Linked DNA regions of Homo sapiens: region 2 is linked to region 1. Evidence: promoter capture Hi-C in 16 types of primary human blood cells and fetal thymus (Javierre and others, 2016). All regions are on one chromosome and are shown on one strand. The core of a region is centred on a gene start or on the middle of the fragment in contact, and the rest is flanking DNA. Distances in the headings are between cores, read along the strand shown.

Region 1 (4,389 bases), core at 775-3,274:
ACCCAAACTGATGGATGCAGAAAAATGTCTAATAAGCATAAAGTGAACAAAACTAAGATTTTTCTAGTGCTAAATCCAATATTCCAAGATTGATTTTTAAGGTGGTTTTTAGTAATTTTCCAACAAGAAACTAGTTTTCCCCCCCATTCCTATTAAGACTTATGTGAGAACTACTTATATAACCCAAGTAGGAAGATGACTATTTGATGTTTTTAACTGTTACATTAAACACCATGGTACTCTAATTATTGCTTACTTTGTGGCAAAAATTTACTAGAAGATAGGTTTATTTACTGAACCTATTAACTTTCTCTACTGTGTGTTTCCACTAGAACCCCCCATGACTTACTTTCCTTTGAGGGAAGAGTATTTTTTTCTTCAGTATTAGTTTTCTTCAGTTTTGACCTGTCAAACTTCTCCACTTCCGACAAGTCTGGCTTATCACTCATCTTGACTAGAAGATAGCCTGAAAAGAATAAACATTTTTAAGAAAACTTACCTGGCAGAACTGTCTTCGGACTAAGGGGTCACAAGCAAAAATTTTCATATTTCATATCAATGTATATTCTACCCGCTCATTTTCAACAGAAAAACAGCAACAGATCTTAGAAAAGTTATATTTTTGTTAGAATAATTTTAACTCCACATCATTAGCCCATTTTGATATGCAGTAAATGCCGTTGGATCAGAACGCACCAGAAACCAAGATTCTCCAGAAACCCAGAGCCAATATGTCTGACTCTTAAAATCACAGCAAGGGTAAAATGGAGGTGATAGAAGCACAAGAGCAGACAGGGACAGAATAAAAAATAAAGACTGGCTTTAACCAGTTAATGATTTTGTAACAGGAGATAGCACTATTCGAGCATCTTCACTTTCTATTAAATTACTTTTGTTTTTTGGCATTTTTTTTTAGGAGACGGGGAGCAGCACAAAAAAAAAAAGAGTGGCATAAGTTGTACTAATTTCTTTCTATTTTAAATGCCCAAAGATGACAGTACATTAAGGCATTACAATACACGTCTCATAATAGCTCCTTGTGGCATTGGTGTATAAACGTTGTAAGAAGGGACAGCTAACTAGGATCAAACCCAGGACTTCAGCAGAATGGGATAAACCAAATAAAAGCGAGTCTTGTTTCACCATGTTTTCTCTGCAAAGAGAGAGGTAAAGAGATGAGGCTTAGAGGTGCATGGCTGTGGACCTGACGAAATGCCTGGTGCCCTGTAAGCGTCCCGAGTTTGTCCAGAAGAGACAATAGGATATCCCAGAAATCGGAGGGCAGAGTTCTCATTCGCAAGCCCAGCCCCACCCTCGTGCAGTAAGATACTATGTCTAGTGCTTGGGGTAGAATGGAGAGGCCCCCAAGCAGCCAGAAGTGCCGAACATGCCTCCATTCCGTCGAGTTTACCCTAAGACCCTCCTCTGCCAAGCCATTAGACGCCAAGCTCAGAGCTGGAAAACTGGAACTAACAAATAAATAATAGCAGGGCCGGGTGCGTAGGCCAGTCTGTCAAGAGCAGTTTGCATACTTTTAAAAATAACTATTAGCTTTTTCTGGCGCCCAGCCTAACGGCCACGGGAGGAGAAGGAATGAGGACCAAGCCCCAGGGGGCCCATTCCGGGCGGCCTCCAAACTCCTCATCCTCTAAGCCTCCGACCTGCAGCTACTGCGGACAGGTCCCTTTAAGGGTCCGCGCTCCCCGCCTCCCAACCCCGGGGCCTTGTTTCCAGGGACCGGCCCCCAGGAGGGCTCGGCATCGAGCGCAGAAGGCGGCCCCCTGGAAGACAAAGGCGCGGACTCGCTCGCCCGGGCGGCGGTGCAGACGCGAAGCGCCAGCCCCAACCTCGGCTCCTCTGGCTCCCGAAGGCGCGGCATCCCCCGCCTCGCAACCCTGACGCCTTCCCATCCCCATGGTCCTCTGGCTCCTGCGAGGCCGCAGGTCCTCACCTGAAAGCTTGAAGACTCGTGAAAGGCTGTTCGCGGGGCTGAGACCCAGACTCGCTCCGGACCAGGTTAGCGTTCCCGCGCAGAGCCCTGCAGTGCTAAGCCACCCAGCAGGCCCCGCCCCAGCCCTCTCTGATTGGCCAAAGGTTTCCGGGCTCGCCACCCCCCCCCCCCCACCCCGCCCTTCCCCTCCTCCGCTTGAGTGTACAGAGCCCGCGTCCACCCTCTCCTCTAGGATCGGGGCTTGGTGAAGTCAGAGCCGACCCCGCCTCCCCAGGCCCCACCTCCCAGGCCTCTTCCACTGCTTTAGTCCTGAGGGTCCACATACCCTTCATCCTGACTACACTCACTCTTTCACAATAACAGAGGCCTCTGCAATAAGCAGACACATCTCGCCCAGTGAGCTTAGAACATCTGGAACTCCGAGGTCCAAGCTGAATGACCGGTATTTAGGCTCTTTCGGCTTTTTATAGCCATTGGGGCCCAAGGATGCTGTGATAACCTAACAGTAGGTTGGAAGTGGGGCTCGGTGTTGTCTGCTCTAATCCTTGGCCAGGTCGTGGAGTAGGGGTGCTCATAGTGAGGGTGGGTGGTTCAGGGCCATTCACCCCTACAACTGGACATTTCTGTGACAGTAGTGCTCTCCTATGAAATGTAAAAGTCACATTCGCAGCTTTCTCGGCCACTGAACACGATAGCAGTTTATAATAATCACAGAACAACTGAGGCTATTCACCTTTATATCCCTAATCCCTAGCACTTTGGCCCACAAGACACATTGGTTGTGGAGATGTCTATAGATTGAAGTAATAAATACGTGATGGGTGGAAGTTTTGGACAATAGCACCACCCAGTGTCTGTTGGAAGAGAAAATTGAGGATTCGGTATTTACTTGAAAGGACTAAACGTTCAAGATCATTTTCTGGATACTCACCCAGAACCTTAGAGCATTAAGGTAAGATGGAGGTAGAACTATGTCTTTAGCTTGCACCCCATGTGTGGTGGTATAGATCTATATAGATCGAAAGTCACTCTTTCCACAAGGATTTCTCAAGGCTTCCCCAGCTTACTTCATTCCCTTTTCTTTGCTTTTGTAGCACGTTGTGTTAATTTGAGAATTGTGTATGTTTGTTGGAGAAACTTTTAAAACAGAAAGATATGCTCATTCAACAAGTAATATTCATTGAGTACCTACAGTGTTCCTGGCATTAAATATAATAAACACCAGTGTTTTCACTACACAGATTTCAATGTTGTTAACATTTAGGTATACTTACTTTGTCTTTCTTTTAAGGACTAAAAGCGTTACAGAAAAAATTGAGGTTTCCTTGACCTTCACTTCATTTCCATTCCCCCTCCCACTTGCCCAGGGGTAGTCCTATCCTGAATGTGATGTGTAGCTTTCAGCGTATTTTTCTGTCATTACAGATTAATGTGATTTCTGTTTCCAGGAGCAAAATGAAGCATTGTTTGAACAAGTGATCCAAGGCTAAGACCACACCCCTTACTTCACTTGGGGTTGACAGGAAGCTCCAGACAACCACCCCTCCATAGCCCAAACCTCAAAATCCTGCCACCCTGGTCTGCCTTGAATCATTAGAACTTATCTAATGATGACATTTATCTCCATTTGTGCGAGTCACCCCAAGACACCCTTCAACTCCTATATTCTAACTGCCATAAGGTTGTGTCCACATCCGCTCTTTAGTTCACTTTTCTCACCGCTCCTCTACTAATAAAACACAATACACCCTCGGTAATTCCTCCATATTTTAAGCCTCTTCTCTGAATTTCCCCTTCCATGAGGATTCCAGATCCCCTGAAGCCCACTCATGAGGAGCAGATGATTTTTCACTCCTACCACCACTGTACCACAGATCCTAAAGCTTATGTAAGGGACTTTGCTGCTTCTCATTGCTGTCTTTAGATAGCAATTCCCCTCCTACCCCCCTAAAAACTTCCAGCTTTTGACAACTTATGTCATTGACTAGCCTTTGTTGTTGACATATAACAAATTTCAACTATTCCCGGCCGGGCGCGGTGGCTCACGCCTGTAATCCCAGCACTGTGGGAGGCCGAGGGGGGCGGATCACAAGGTCAGGAGATCGAGACCATCCTGGCTAACACGGTGAAACCCCGTCTGTACTAAAAATACAAAAAAAATTAGCTGGGCGTGGTGGTGGGAGCCTGTAGTCCCAGCTACTCGGGAGGCTAAGGCAGGAGAATGGCGTGAACCCGGGAGGCGGAGCTTGCAGTGAGCGGAGATAGCACCACTGCACTCCAGCCTGGGTGACAGAGTGAGACTCTGTCTCAAAAAATAAAAAATAAAAAATAAAAATTCAACTATTCCCCACTCATTTTTCAAAAATTTTAGCTCCTACAACACAGTCATTCTCAAAGGTAGTTGTCCTGCTTTAATTCTTGGTAAATTCAAGAATGAT
Region 2 (4,728 bases), core at 816-3,315, 380 kb after region 1:
ATATATATATATGCTTGAAGTTATATCAAATGTTAGCTGACAGGACAGAAGGGAAAAAATGTTTTGAATAATTCTAGGTTTAGAATCCTGGAACAATAGTTTATAAGGTAGTTTCCCTAGATCAAGTTACCAGTCTTTTAATTTGTGTTCCCTGATCCAACTAATGGGCATAATTATTGGTACTGGATAGAATTGTTGAAATCAAAATGAGATGAAATATAAAATACCCTTTATATAGTAGTTGTGTACCTGTTAATAGACTACCATCCAGGTTCCCTTTCCAAAGGGCCACAGCTTGGTCTAGTTCAACATCTCAGAGATCAGCCAGTCCATGTACATACAGAAGATACTTTATCTTCCATTTAGTAGTGTAACTTGCTTATTTAACTGTAGTGGGTAGAATTGTGTCCCCCTCAAAACATGTCCCAATCCTAACCCACACAAACTTTATTTGGAAATAGGTTCTATGTAGACATAATGAAGTGAAAGATCTCCAGAAGGGAATATCCTGAATGTAGGTTGATGCCTAACTCCAATGACTGGTATCTATATAAAAGAAAGCAGAGGGAGATTTGACACATCCAGGGAAGAAGGCCATGTGAATATTGAGGCAGAGATTGAGTTATGCCACCTCAAATCAAATAAAGCAGGAGCCACAAGAAGCTGGAAGAGCTAAGAAAGGATTCTCCCCTAAAGGCTTTGGAGGCAGTGCAGTCCTGCCTACACCTTGATTTTGTACTTCAGGCTTTGGTTTTGTACATCGGAATCATGGCATAATAAATTGCTGTTGTTTAAATATGCAAAGTTTATGATAATTTGTTATGGTGGCCCTAGGAAACTATTACATGTACAAACATCATACCCCAAATGTCATTGATTATGAATAAACATTGGTCAATACCCTAATTTTTTTTCATGGCTACAGGGATACGAATGCCAGTAAGACATGTGAAAAGTATTTAAAAGTGCCAACATTTCGTAGGTACTATATGCTTTTAATGTATTGGATCATTCAGTGCCCAGAACACACTTATGAGTTAAATACTATTGCAGAATTCAATTTTACAAATGGAAAACTGAGGGACAGAGAGGATAATGACTTTGCCTAAGACTGAACAGTTAAGGAGTGGGACAGCTTGGACTTATGTCCAGTGCATCATGCTCTAGAGCCTGGGAAACTGTGAAAGCTCTGTTGTTAGGTGAAAGAAGCAGTCTGCAAGCATACATACTTTAGGAGCTCATTAAAAGTAATATGCCCTATGTTAGTGTATTTATACAAAACCTGGACCTAGTAAGAAATGGGTGGATTATGACTTTGGAGAGAATGTTCATGGCAATCCCAGAGACAGAAGCCATAGGGCAGTGGGATGATGAGTGGGAAGTGAAAAATGTTAACAGAGCATGTAGAAAACTCTTTTTGGTACTTCGAATATGAAGGAGAAGAAGGATAAGGGAGGGAGAGACAGAGACAGGGAGAACTGTATCCTGTAGCTGAATGGGTGATAAGGGGGTCCAAGGAGAGATTTTTTTTTTAAATCTTCAATTTCTTGAAACTTGACCAAGTTAAAAGCTAATGTGAAAAAAAAGCTATCTCAGAATTAACCCTTGAAGTTGACCACATGTTTATTTCCCTTATGCTTTTATATCACATTGGAGCTCATGAGATACCTCTGATGGAATAGAATGGGTTTGAGCTCAATAGGTATTTAGTTATTACCTAATGAAAGAATAGACATTGTGTGTGAAGAAATGCTAGTAACTCTTGGATTTTTGTCTCTCAGGGAGGCAGCAGATGGCTGAAATTCTGATCCGATGTGGCTGGTTAATGCATGATCTGAAAACCCCTGCACTGGTGATTTTGGGACAGATCTAGAATATACCAATAAATATATTAACATACCAAGTAGTCTAGGAGCAGCCACTGGGCGAACACCAAACCTTGCATCCCTGCTGCTGTCTCTGAGCTCAGCAGGTAAGTTCAAAGACATGCCTGTCTTCCCAGTGTGGGGAACTAAATTTGGGTCATCTCAGAAGCATGATGTTGGGCAGCTCTTACGAGCTTCTGATAACACCCACGAAGCAGAGAAACTACTGTCTACAAAACTTTGAACTCAAGGCATGTCACAGGGACATTTGCTTTCTTCAAATAGATGTCTGTGTTCTCATAAGGGGGAGCAATGAGAAATGATTTTTCACAATGCCTGCCTTAGCACTGAGGCTCAGCCAGCCCCTAGTGCTGTGTCCCATTTAAAGGCCATTTAAGTCCCACCCCATGCCATATACTCTCAAGAGGTTTCCTCATATACCCATCAGACAGCTATGTAAGGATGGTATGGTCAGTCCCATTTCACAGATGACTAACCTCAGGCTCACAGAGCCTAAGTCACCTCTTCAGGTAAGTGGCAGGGTTTGAATGAAATTCCATCCCTCACCCTCCCTAGAGTACCCTGAGCAGCCTCCCTTTTAGAAGATGGGTTTCTGGGCTTGAGAAATGGTGAGATTTCACCCACCTGCTATTGTAACCCCATGAGTCTTTACTCAACAACTTTTCTGGGTGAAGATGACAGAGGTGAGATCCCATTCTTTGTGCCAAGAGACCTGTGTGTAGGGACACATGAGTTGGCTGATGCCTGAAGTGGTGAGTGGGCTCAGGCAGAAACTCAAGTGTTGTACTTGAGACAGGTGAGCATATATATGTGTGTGTATATATATATGAGTTTATTAAGTATTAACTTACACAGTCACAGGGTCCCACAATAGGCTGTCTGCAAGCTGAGGAACAAGGAGAGTCAGTCCGAGTCCCAAAACTGAAGAACTTTGAGTCCAATGTTTGAGGGCAGGAAGCATCCAGCACGGGAGAAAGATGTAGGCTGGGAGGCTAGGCCCGTCTCTCTTTTTCACATTTTTCTGCCTGCTTTATATTTGCTGGAAGCTGATTAGATTGTGCCCACCAGATTAAGGGTGGATCTGCCTTTCCCAGCCCACTGACTCAAATGTTAATCTCTTTTGGCAACACCCACACAGACACAACCGGGATTAATACTTTGTATCCTTCAATCCAATCAAGTTTACACTCAGTGTTAACCATCGCAACTCCTTTAGGCAAATGCACTCTGTATTTCATCTTCTTTAATGTCAACAGCTATTCAAGTTACCCACAAGAATACCCACTGAATTATGACCATTATTCAGATCAGGGTACTTTAGGCAAGTTTCTGTACATCAGGGAAATACCTTTGTTGTGTCTCGATTAGCAGGTAATTCTGAATTATTCTAAAGTTTTCTCCAGTTTGTCTCTGTGCCTCCTGGTCTCGGGAATGATCTAATCTCCTTGGGCACTGCCATTACATGTTCCAAGGCAGTTTAACATTTTTTTAAAAATTGTGATCCATGTGGTTTTAAGTCAGAAGATAATTTAAATTGAAAAATTCTAAATTAAAAAAAACTAAGAATAGCGTAAAAACTCTGGAAAAATCCGTACAAACTAGAGCTGAGATACTGGATTAGAATTCATGCTTTGTGAAGCACACTAACAAAGAGCTTGGCAAATAATTTCAGTGGAGAAGTCAAATAGTTAGATACATGAACAATAAACACATTAACTATGCCAAAACCACAAAAACTAATAAGATGTAAATATAAATCCTGAGAAGAAAAGTGGAAAAAATAGGTTGCAAAAGAAGATAAGGATGTGATTCGACCTTTGGAACAGACTGTGTGTGTGTAGGTGAACATATTTGTGTGCATCTCACTTGTGGAGACACATTTCACAGTATGCACCATTCTGTGGACAGCAGACAACTAGGGGTCAGGGATTAGGAGCTGCTCCAGTGAGAGATACAGGTTAATTTCAATTCATATATGTGTTTTTATATATTGTTTTACATTTTATATTCAGGAAAAAGTATTTTGATGAAATATTAAAAACAATATGCTGTGAACATATTGACAAGAGTATGGTACACATATATTCCTTACTTCAGGCATTCATTTATTCAATTTCCTGGGGAAATAAAGTAGATTTTTAAAAAATGAATTGACTCACACGCAAGTGTGTGTGTGTGTGTGTTCTAGCTCCTCTAGCTCTACCACCTCAAATACAGTTCACAATTGCAGCATTATCCCCAGTTCAGACTGATGCTGTACTTCCAATATCAGATTTAGATATCCCCGAAAACGTACTTTTTTATAACCCAGAAAAATGATGGATACAGAGGGATTCCTGTAGGTACGTAAAAAATTCCAGAAAACTGGCTGATCACATTAATCAACCTCCCAACCTCCATCCCTCCCTTTCCCCTGCTGAACTCACCAGTCAGCTCTCAGAGTTGCAATCCTGGCTCTGGCCACTAGGAGACATCGCAGCCATCTTCACATTTGTTCTTTTTTAAGGAAAAGGAGTACATCTAACAAACAGTAACAGATGTTATAACATGGTTTGTTCACTGAAATACCAGTTGTTTGGAGTATTCGCGTGTATATTAAAGCAGTTCCATTTGCTGTCGTCCCCAAATCTACATCGCATTCATTGATTCATCTCTTCCCTTCTCTGTTGGTAGAGGTTTCCACATTGTAGGAGGGTCCCTTCCAGAGAGCAGGGCGTTCGTTCACTCTCCATTACCCCACCCCTGTATAGGCTTCCTGGTCCTTCTACCACTGCCTCCCACTCATCCCCTCTCCAGGGGCACAGCTGCCCAGACCTGCCCCTTGTGCCGTCATCCTCTCTCA

Evidence for each region. The method cuts DNA at HindIII sites, captures the fragments that hold promoters and counts their contacts. A CHiCAGO score of 5 or more calls a contact.
Region 2: a fragment that was not itself captured here is called in contact with the fragment with the promoter of TMSB15A in region 1 in 4 of 17 cell types (erythroblasts, megakaryocytes, endothelial precursors and 1 more); the score reaches 6.4 in erythroblasts.

What each region holds. Positions count from the first base shown.
Region 1 is chrX:102,514,715-102,519,103 of GRCh38, forward strand. It overlaps TMSB15A (thymosin beta 15A), which reads right to left and starts at 2,025. Exons shown (of 3, transcript NM_021992.3): 1 at 1,952-2,025; 2 at 350-466. The coding sequence starts at 449. The HindIII fragment of the contact is 1,876 bases long and covers 1,957-3,832 here.
Region 2 is chrX:102,895,793-102,900,520 of GRCh38, forward strand. It overlaps ARMCX5-GPRASP2 (ARMCX5-GPRASP2 readthrough), which reads left to right. Exons shown (of 19, transcript NR_146584.3): 15 at 1,782-1,972. It overlaps LINC00630 (long intergenic non-protein coding RNA 630), which reads left to right. Exons shown (of 12, transcript NR_146589.1): 6 at 1,782-1,972. Among named protein-coding and RNA genes, the nearest start is that of RAB40AL, 39 kb to the right of the region's middle. The HindIII fragment of the contact is 5,900 bases long and covers 1-4,728 here.